Regions from separate parts of the Homo sapiens genome. Here region 1 is linked to region 2. The links are contacts of gene promoters, found by promoter capture Hi-C in blood cells and fetal thymus (Javierre and others, 2016). All regions are on one chromosome and are shown on one strand. The core of a region is centred on a gene start or on the middle of the fragment in contact, and the rest is flanking DNA. Distances in the headings are between cores, read along the strand shown.

The links. The method cuts DNA at HindIII sites, captures the fragments that hold promoters and counts their contacts. A CHiCAGO score of 5 or more calls a contact.
Region 1: a fragment that was not itself captured here is called in contact with the fragment with the promoter of ADCY9 in region 2 in 1 of 17 cell types (megakaryocytes); the score reaches 5.0 in megakaryocytes.

What each region holds. Positions count from the first base shown.
Region 1 is chr16:3,771,332-3,776,883 of GRCh38, reverse strand. CREBBP (CREB binding lysine acetyltransferase) reads left to right here. Exons shown (of 31, transcript NM_004380.3): 12 at 2,191-2,315; 13 at 2,954-3,133. Among named protein-coding and RNA genes, the nearest start is that of TRAP1, 57 kb to the right of the region's middle. The HindIII fragment of the contact is 528 bases long and covers 1,243-1,770 here.
Region 2 is chr16:4,113,455-4,118,668 of GRCh38, reverse strand. ADCY9 (adenylate cyclase 9) reads left to right here and starts at 2,227. Exons shown (of 11, transcript NM_001116.4): 1 at 2,227-2,979; 2 at 3,184-4,919. The coding sequence starts at 3,227. RefSeq lists silencers at 2,020-2,089, 5,083-5,214. The HindIII fragment of the contact is 5,610 bases long and covers 1-4,989 here.

The sequences.
Region 1 (5,552 bases), core at 257-2,756, 340 kb after region 2:
ACCACGCCCAGCTAATTTTTTGTATCTTTTTTTTTAGTAGAGATGGGGTTTCACCATGTTAGCCAGGATGGTCTCAATCGCGTGAACTTGTGATCTGCCCACCTTGGCCTTCCAAAGTGCTGGGATTACAGGCATGAGCCACTGCACCCGGCCAGCTTTTTATTTTTTTAATGGATGGTGAAGGGGGTGTGGTACGTTACTCTTAGGAAGAGTCCGAGAAAGAAGCACCCTAGATGTGGGGAGGGAGTGCTTCTGAATGCTGAGAAGGAGAAGCATGCAAGACAGTCCTAGACTGCTGAGCACTTGCAGAGGCTGAAATGGGGACGGCACGGGCTGCTCTTGGCCCTAGGGGTTAAGCCCAGCTGGCTGGATGTCAACTTCTGGAGAGAGTGTACACACAGGTCCTGTGCCAGGTTGGGGTGTCAGCAGCTGTCTCAACAACCTTGAAAGGTTCTTAAGTAGAGAGCCTCTGGTTTTTGGTTGGTTGAAGCAGTGATTTTTATTTTGGGGCAGGGAGCATTTGAAAACCCTGTAGCTCTTGACCATTGAGACCCAAGCAGGAGGACATTTTTCCAGGTTGTGAAACAAGGTGGTGACATTATCCAGAAGACTCTAAGGAAAGAGGCTTTGCTCAGGCTTTGATTTTTGAAAGAAATCAAGGAGTCAGGCTGGGCACAGTGGCTCACACCTGTAATCCCAGCACTTTGGGAGGCCGAAGCAGGAGGATCACTTGAGGTCAGGAGTTTGAGACCAGCCTAGCCAACATGGTGAAACCCCCGTCTCTATTAAAAATACAAAATTTAGCCAGGCATGGTGGTGCACACCTGTAATCCCAGCTACGCGGGAGGCTGAGGCAGGAGAATTGCTTGAACCCAGGAGGCGGAGGCTGCAGTGAGTTGAGATCACACCACTGCACTCCAGCCTGGGCAACAAGAGCGAAATCTCATCTCAAAAAAAAAAAAGAAAGAAATCAAGGAGTCAGAGAAATTGAGCCTTGGGAAAGTGGCTGGATGCTGTGTTGGGGATTGGTCCAGGACTTCAGCCTGGATAGGAAGATGCTGCTGGTGTGGGGTATGATGCCCCTGCTGTTTACCAGCAGAATATTGGAATAGATGTTTTCTAGTTATGCACTTAGCAACCTCCCTACCAGCACATCTGGGTAAATACAGATTTCTTTAAGTGCTGTTCCTTAGTAATTGTTTTTCATTTTGTTTAAAAAAATTCTCAAGGAGTGGGGAAGCTTACATTATAGACTCCCTGGAAAGTCTTCCTGGTCTGCATCGGCACTCCGTTATTTGAGGGTACCATTTCTAGGTAGCCATTGAAGGTAGTGCTCCGTGAGTCATCCTTTGAGCCTTCTCATGACTACAGCAGCGCTAAGGCAGCACCTTCCAGAAATTCTCTAAAGGGTTCTGTCAGATTCTAGTGTTGGTCCTAAGACTAATTTGAACTGGTGCTTCTTTAGAACTCAGAGTTTACAGAGTATTATTGGAAATTGGAAGGAACTAGACACCGCAGTCTGGAGACACTTACTGGCTGTGAAGTGTCTTTCAGTGATGTGGTGTTCCTGTAAACTACAGGAGGCTAAGGTTGAGGACGGCTGACCCTTGGGCACTTCTTAATGCTTAAGGTGCTTGCAAAATTAAAAGAACATTTGGAGACTTAGCACAGATTCTAACAATGAATGTAAACCCAGCAAGGAGCTGGGAATCCTCGGATGATGGGCGTCAGCTGCTCCAGAGGCATTAGGTATGGGTGTGCACAGAAGCTTGCCCTGGTCTCTGGAAACATCTCTTCTGTAGCTTGTGAGGGTGCTGTCCTTTCAGGGCACCTCCTCACCCTCTTTGTTGCTATGACACTTTGGTACTGTGCCCTCTGGCTCAGCTCTACCACAGCCTCGTTTAATGTCTCACTTGTTCCTGTCTTACCCAACCTTATGCCTTCATGTCCTCGTCCTTCCCTGGTACCCCTCACCATGCCACCGTCACCACCCCCACATTGATGCCGTTTTCTCTGGATATGGAGAAGTCTGTTCCTTCATCATCTTCATTGATTAATTGGGTGATTTCTTTTCAGTTTTCTGTTGCCTGTGCGTTCCATCTTATTTTACTTAAGAGTTTATTTAGCAAGTTGTAATTCTGTTTTCCTGTGGGTGCTTTTCCTAATGAACCGTTGTGGGTACATTTACAGGGATGAATTCATTTAACCCCATGTCCTTGGGGAACGTCCAGTTGCCACAAGCACCCATGGGACCTCGTGCAGCCTCCCCAATGAACCACTCTGTCCAGATGAACAGCATGGGCTCAGTGCCAGGGGTAAGTGTTCTCTTTCGCTGTGCTGCAGATAGCCCTCCCTCTCACATGGAACATTATCTAAGCAGCAGAATTCATGTCACTTGAGAATCCTGTGGTTCTTGTTCCTTTGAATTTGGGTTATGCTTTATTTCTTTCATCTCTCATTTTAAAAAAATTATTACTACACAGAATTATTTGACTGTTAGTTATTTTATTGGAATAACAAATTCATAGGAATGTGTGGCTTTGTGAGAATGTGGGAGTTCCAAGGCTGGAGAAGGCAGCCTCAGATATGTGGCCAGCAGGGAATTGTCAGCATCTGTTGACTGAGAGCTCGCTGTTCCGAGGCTGCTTTCTAAACACTTTAGAGAACTCATAGGCATGTCTTAAACTTTAAATTATAGCCTGCTATTGATTTCTATTCAGAGGACATTTTGAAGCTGGCTCATTTGAGAGATTGCCTGAGAAAGTGTGTAAGGTGCCCAGGAGCGCGGGAGTTCTTAGCAAGTGGTGGTCTCTTCCCATGAGGAAGGGCAGGATGTGAGCCCTGTGCTTGCCATCCTCTGGGGTTGTGAAGCCTTGGATCATTCTGGCTCACCTTGAAAACTCTGGCCGTCAGCTTCCGAACTACAGCTCTGGTGGTGCTTGTTGTCTCGTAGATGGCCATTTCTCCTTCCCGAATGCCTCAGCCTCCGAACATGATGGGTGCACACACCAACAACATGATGGCCCAGGCGCCCGCTCAGAGCCAGTTTCTGCCACAGAACCAGTTCCCGTCATCCAGCGGGGCGATGAGTGTGGGCATGGGGCAGCCGCCAGCCCAAACAGGCGTGTCACAGGTACTGTGCCCCACTGGGACCGTGGCTCCCTAGGAAATAAAATTCTTGTGTTAAGTTTTGGTTTTTTTTTTCTGTCTTCCTTCGTGGAAATTAAAATTCCAGAATGCACATTTCATGTCTTTGTATCAGCTTCTCTTTGTTTTCTCCACCTTTGTCCTGTAGTCCTTAACTCGTTTGGAATTTCTCTTATCCTTTCTGGGTTAACTATATGCAAAAGTGGGAATGGATTTAGAATTTTTGGTTTGTATGCTTTTGTGTTTTGATCTTTGAGTTTTTGTTTTCTTATTTTTTGTTTGTGTATTTTAAATTCTAACTTTAACGTGACCCTGAGAGGCATTAGGATTTTAAAAAGCGAGTGAGAAGGACCCATGAATTCACTCTTGATGATTTGGCTTTTGTTTCTTTTGACCTGTCTCCACTGCCAGGTGAAATCAAGCTAACAGAATCATTTCAATAGTTCCCTTCTTGTTAAATGTTTTTAATTTCTCAATCTAGAGCTGAAGAAATTGATTTTCCATTTATTCCTTCCTTTTTTCCTCTTTTGTTAGTTGTAGTGCGTATCATTGCTACTGTATACAAAATATACATGTATTTAAAACACACCAAATCCTCCCTAAAAGATAAAATTCTTGTTTTAAGTTTTTTTTTGTTTGTTTGTCTGTTTTAAGACAGGGTCTCGTTTTGTTGCCCAGACTGGAGTGCAGTGGTACAATCTCGGCTCTGCAACCTCCGCCTCCCGGGTTCAAGCGATTCTCCTGCCTAAGCCTGCCAAGTACCTGGGGTTACAGATGCCCGCCACCACACCCAGCTAATTTTTTTTTTTTTTTTTTTTTTTGTATTTTTAGTAGAGACGGGATTTCACCATGTTGGCCAGGCTGATCTCGATCTCCTGACCTCAGGTGATCCACCCACCTCGGCCTCCCAAAGTGCTGGGATTACAGGAGTAAGCTACCGTACCCAGCCTTGTTTTGAGTTTTTAATGTGAAATAATGCTGCATAAGTCATTATTATATATTAGATTTCCTCACTAAATGATTATTCTTAACTTTCCATAACATTTCATTTCTCTAGAACAAGGATTAGCAAACTTCGTGTAAAGGGCCAGATACTAAATATTTTCAGCTTTGCAGGCCATTCAATCTTGGTTTTCATCACTTCTGTTCTTGTAGTGCAGAAGCTGCTGTGGTACATAAATGAGGTGGCTGTGTGCCAATAAAGCTTTATTTACAGAAACAAGCAGCTCAGTGTGTTTGCCCTGGGAGATTGCCAACCCCTGCTCTAGAACAGTGATTCAGAATCATTTTTAAAATGTTCACAAATAATTCTGAAGTGTATCCCCAGTATAGAACCACTGCACTGAAACAGTTCTCTTTCAGTAACTAACGTGTGTGTGTGTGTGTGTGTGTGTGTGTGTGTGTGTGTTTGTGTTTCAGAGAGAATTTTTTTTTTAAATTTTTAATTGTTAAGGGTACTTATGGATGTATATATTTATGGTCAATAACTTTTATTCTTATTTTTATTTATTTATTTTATAGTCCCCAGGGAAGAAGCAACTTAAAAAAAAAATACCTTTTTCTAAGCTAAGCTTAGAAAATGTTAAAGAACATTGGGTACATGTTATAGAACATGAAGCTTATAGGCTGGGTCAATGTACAGTAGCTCCCCCAATCTGTCATTTCACTTTCTGAGGTTTCAGTTACCTGGGGTCAACTGTGGTCCAAAAATATTAAATGGGAAATTCTGGGAATAAACAATTCATAAATTTTAAATTAATTAGCTAGGCATGGTATTGCACGCCTGTAATCCCAGCTACTGAGGAGGCTGAGGCAGGAGAATCACTGGAACCCGGGAGATGGAGGTTGCAGTGAGCCAAGATCATGCCATTGCACTCCAGACTGGGTGACAGAGCGAGACTCTGTCTTTTTTTTTTTAAAAAAAAAAAAAAAAAGTTTTAAATTGAGTGCCATTCCAAGTTGCATGATGAATTCTGTCACCATCCCACTCTGTGCCCCCAGGGATGTGAATCATTTATTTGTCCAGCATTTCCACACTGTAGACACTACCCACCTCTTAGTCACTGAGTGTCCACCTTGGTTGTCAGATCCAAAAATCTTGGTAAATATTGGGTTCAGTACTATCCGCAGTTTCAGGCGTTCCAAGACTGGGGGTCTTGGAATGTATCCGAGTGGATATGAGGGGACTGCTGTAGATGTGTGTGTTTAAGCCATAAGTTTCAATGGTTGTTTTAATTATATAAATCAGACTATAAGAAACGTGTGTAGTTTTACCGTTATTGAGGAGTGCCCATTACAAGTGTATAGCTCGATGAATTTTCACAAGCAGAACACTCCCAAGAAAATGTGATTAAATTCCCATACATTTGGCTGGGCGCGGTGGCTCACGCCTGTAATCCCAGCAC
Region 2 (5,214 bases), core at 978-3,477:
CAAGATGGAGTCCTGCTCTGTTGCCCAGGCTGGAGTGCAGTGGCATGATCTCGGTTCACTGCAAACTCCGTCTCCTGGATTCAAGTGATTCTTGTGCCTCAGCCTCCTGAGTAGCTGGGATTACAGGCGCACACCACCATGCCCAACTAATTTCTGTATTTTTAGTAGAGACGGGGGTTTCACCATGCTGGCCAGGCTGGTCTTGAACTCCTAACCTCAGGTGGTCTGTCTGCCTCAGCCTCCCAAAGTGCTGGGATTACAGGTGTGAGCCACTGCACAGGGCCCAGCTTCCCCTAAAAATGTTAACGTCTTACCTAACCATAGTAAGAGGATCAGAACCAGGAAATTGCAGATCTTATGTGAATTTTGCCCGCTCTCCTGCTACTGTCCTTTCCTGTTCCATGTTCCCAACCAGCATCCCATGTTCCATTTAGTTGTTGTATCTATCCCCTTAGGGACGATTCCTAGATTGTGACAGTTTCTCAGTCTTTGTCTTTCAAGACCCAAAGTGTCCAAGGACACTTTTGATGGGTACTGGTTAATCACTTTGTAGAACAGGTCTCAATCTGGGTTTGTCTGGTGTTTTCTTGCGATTGGATTGAGATTACACACTTCTGCAGGAATACCACCACAATATGTTGCTTTTAGTTTTTTCCTCCTTTATTGTGGTAAAATACACTCAACATAACATTTACCATTTAAACCACTTTATTTTATTTTATTATTATTTTTTGAGATGGAGTTTCACTCTTGTTGCCCAGGCTGGAGTGTAATGGTGCGAACTCAGCTCACCACAACCTCCGCCTCCCGGGTTCAAGCAATTCTCCTGCCTCGGCCTCTCGAGTAGCTGGGATTACAGGCATGTGCCACCACGTCCGGCTAATTTTTGTATTTTTAGTAGAGATGGGGTTTCTCCGTGTTGGTCAGGCTGGTCTCGAACTCCCGACCTCAGGTGATCCGCCCACCTCGGCCTCCCAAAGTGCTGGGATTACAGGCGTGAGCCACCGCTCCCGGCCTAAACCACTTTAAAGTGTATGATTCAAGGGCAGTATGTAGATTCATCCTGTTGGATCATTTCTAGACTTTTTCATCATCCTAAAACGAAACCCCAAGCTGCTTATCTTCCTCCCCTAGCACCTGGCAACCTCCAATCTGTGTCGCCTCTACGGATTTGCCAATTCGAGACATTTCATCTGGATGGAATCATACGCTATGTGGCCTTTTTTGTTTGGCTTCTTTCACTAGCATAACGTTTCCCGGGTTCCTCCACACTGCAGCATGCATCGGTGCTCCATTCCTTTTTGTAGCCGAATAATATTCCATTGCATGGACAGATCACATTTTACTTTTATTTTCTAATTCAACAGTGAGACCTGGTGTGGGCCCCGGCGCTGGGCCTGGGAGGCGAGGGAGGGGATGGAAGAGAGCCCCGTGACTGGCAGGAGGCACTGTGGAGTGTGGGGAGAAGGGGTCGGGATCTGCATGCTAGAGAGAATAGGATTTTATTTACACGTGGCAATGTTTATGGAGGCCAATGCACAACTGCCATTATGGGACGCGGACTCCTTTGAAAGTCTCATTTGTGTAAAAGGAAAAGCAGTAGTTCATGAGGAGGGGGAGAAGGGCTCAAGGACAGCAAGGTAAACTACCCCTGGGGCGGGGGAACGTGGTCGTCGGTGGGCCCAGCTTTGGAGGCTAGGCCCGTGAAGGTCGCCCCGTGAGCAGGTCCAGGGCAGGCCGAGTGCCCCGGGGCCCGCATTCATTGCTTACAGAGCAAGGGGAGCCTCCCGGGAGGGAAATCCAACGGTTGGAAACTTCGATTTATCCCAAAGGCGTGCCGAGTGGGAAGGCAACATTTTGATTTCCCAAACGTTGCGGCCAGCGGCTTCTTCCACGGCAGGCGCCTTCAGGTCTCTCCGCAGGGTCGGGACCCCGGGCGGCGCGCGGCCTCTGGGACGCCGAGGGAGGGCGGGCCCACAGCGCCCGGAGCGCGGACAGCGGCCACAGCCCGCCGCCTAGAAGCGGCGCCGCCCGGGGCGGGGGGCGGAGCCGAGCGCGCGCCCCGCCCCGCCCCGCCCCGCCCCGCAGCCCCAGCCCAGCGCGCGCACCAAGGCGGGGCGGCGCGCGGCCCGTGCGCGTGTCCGGGGCCAGGAGGCGGTGGCGGCGAGCGCGGGCCGCGCGTGCGCGCTGCGGCTGGGCGAGGGGCGGCGCGGGCGCGCGTCTGTCAGTGACAGCGGGCGGGGCAGGGGCCGGAGATGGTGGCGGCGGCAGCTCTTCCGACATGAGGCAGCGGCCGCGGGGGACACGGCGGCGGGCGCGGCGGCGGCCGCATCTCTAGCTCGGGGAGGCGGCCCCCGGCGTGGGCGCGGGCGGGCGGGCGTCCCGGCCGGCGTCGCGGGAGCCCGGCTCTGCGGCAGCGTCTGCACCGCCGCCCGGCGAGGGGCCCGCGTCCGTGGTTCCACGCGCTCGGTCCCGGGACAGCTGCGGCCGCGGCGGGAGCGGCGGCGCACTCGGGGGGAAGCAGGCCCCACTAGACGGGCCGCGCCGACGGGCTCCGCGCACTCGCAGCCCGGGGCGCCCCCACCCCCAGCGCCCGCCGCCGCGGGCAGGGCCGGCCCGGAGCGCGGGGGGCGGCCGGGGAGCGCGAGCCGGGGGCGCCCGCCGAAGCTCGCTGCTCCGGGTCGGGGTCCGGGCCCGGGGCCGGCCGCGCGCCGCCTTTGACGCATCGGAGCGCGGCTCCTGCAGGATGGAGGGCTCCGCGCCGCCAGCGGAGTTGTTTGTGCGCAGGCGGCTCGCGGGGCTGGGAGCGCTCAAGGTCTGAACTTCCCTCCGGAGCCGCAGCTGGAGGAGGCGAGCGCGCGAGGAGGAGAAGCCGCGCGGCGCGGAGGCCACCCTCGGGGCGAGAGGCGCGGAAGGCGAGCGAGCAAAGCGGTCCCGGAGCCACGGCGGCCACGCGGCGGGGACCCCCGGGCGTTCTAGGTCCGTCCCGAGCGGTTCTCGTGCGCCTCGAAGGTGGGGGCGGTGGGGGCGGTGGGAGCACCGCTGAGCCGGGAACCACAGGAACAGATGGTGCCTGTCCAGGTCGCGTGCTGGAGCCGCCCCTTAGGACAGGAGCAGGTCCCGGGCCTCTAGGCGTGCATGCCTAGGTGGGAGCGCCGCTAACTCTCCCCGTTTTGCTGGCAGGTACTGGTGACCCCGGCCGGGGCAGGCCCCGGGACTCGACAACATGGCTTCCCCACCCCACCAGCAGCTGCTGCATCACCACAGCACCGAGGTGAGCTGCGACTCCAGCGGGGACAGCAACAGCGTGCGCGTCAAGATCAACCCCAAGCAGCTGTCCTCCAACAGCCACCCCAAGCACTGCAAATACAGCATCTCCTCTAGCTGCAGCAGCTCTGGGGACTCCGGGGGCGTCCCCCGGCGAGTGGGCGGCGGAGGCCGGCTGCGCAGGCAGAAGAAGCTGCCCCAGCTGTTCGAGAGGGCCTCCAGCCGCTGGTGGGACCCCAAGTTCGACTCGGTGAACCTGGAGGAGGCCTGCCTGGAGCGCTGCTTCCCGCAGACCCAGCGCCGGTTCCGGTATGCGCTCTTCTACATCGGCTTCGCCTGCCTTCTGTGGAGCATCTATTTTGCGGTCCACATGAGATCCAGACTGATCGTCATGGTCGCCCCCGCGCTGTGCTTCCTCCTGGTGTGTGTGGGCTTCTTTCTGTTTACCTTCACCAAGCTGTACGCCCGGCATTACGCGTGGACCTCGCTGGCTCTCACCCTGCTGGTGTTCGCCCTGACCCTGGCTGCGCAGTTCCAGGTCTTGACGCCTGTCTCAGGACGCGGCGACAGCTCCAACCTTACGGCCACAGCCCGGCCCACAGATACTTGCTTATCTCAAGTGGGGAGCTTCTCCATGTGCATCGAAGTGCTCTTTTTGCTCTATACCGTCATGCACTTACCTTTGTACCTGAGTTTGTGTCTGGGGGTGGCCTACTCTGTCCTTTTCGAGACCTTTGGCTACCATTTCCGGGATGAAGCCTGCTTCCCCTCGCCCGGAGCCGGGGCCCTGCACTGGGAGCTGCTGAGCAGGGGGCTGCTCCACGGCTGCATCCACGCCATCGGGGTCCACCTGTTCGTCATGTCCCAGGTGAGGTCCAGGAGCACCTTCCTCAAGGTGGGGCAATCCATTATGCACGGGAAGGACCTGGAAGTGGAAAAAGCCCTCAAAGAGAGGATGATTCATTCCGTGATGCCAAGAATCATAGCCGATGACTTAATGAAGCAGGGAGATGAGGAGAGTGAGAATTCTGTCAAGAGGCATGCCACCTCGAGCCCCAAGAACAGGAAGAAAAAGTCTTCCATCCAAAAAGCTCCTATAGCCTTCCGCCCTTTTAAGATGCAGCAGATCGAAGAAGTCAGTATTTTATTTGCAGATATCGTGGGCTTCACCAAGATGAGTGCCAACAAGTCTGCCCACGCCCTGGTGGGTCTCCTGAACGATCTGTTCGGTCGCTTCGACCGCCTGTGTGAGGAGACCAAGTGTGAGAAAATCAGCACCCTGGGAGACTGTTACTACTGCGTGGCGGGCTGTCCCGAGCCCCGGGCCGACCATGCCTACTGCTGCATCGAGATGGGCCTGGGCATGATCAAGGCCATCGAGCAGTTCTGCCAGGAGAAGAAGGAGATGGTGAACATGAGAGTCGGGGTGCACACGGGCACCGTCCTTTGCGGCATCCTGGGCATGAGGAGGTTTAAATTTGACGTGTGGTCCAACGATGTGAACCTGGCCAATCTCATGGAGCAGCTGGGAGTGGCCGGCAAAGTTCACATTTCTGAGGCCACCGCAAAATACTTAGATGACCGGTACGAAATGGAAGATGGGAAAGTTATTGAACGGCTGGGCCAGAGCGTGGTTGCTGACCAGTTGAAAGGTATGTGCACTGCTTTACCTCGGCATCCCCCCTCCCTGATCCTGATTGTATTAAATTAAAAAAAAAAGCTTCCAGCCTCAGTGTCTGCAGACAGCTCAGGTATCTCAGAATGCCTTACCATGGGGGGATCTCAGGGTCAGTGTGACTTTTCTTTCAGCGGGTCAAATATCACAGATCTGTTCACACTGCAGAAAGGGACGCTGTGCAGAGATGACCTAGACGCGACCTTTAGAAGGAAGGAGAACTTTGAACGTGCATAACCACTGGTTGGCTGAAATGTGGGGGCACGTCCGGT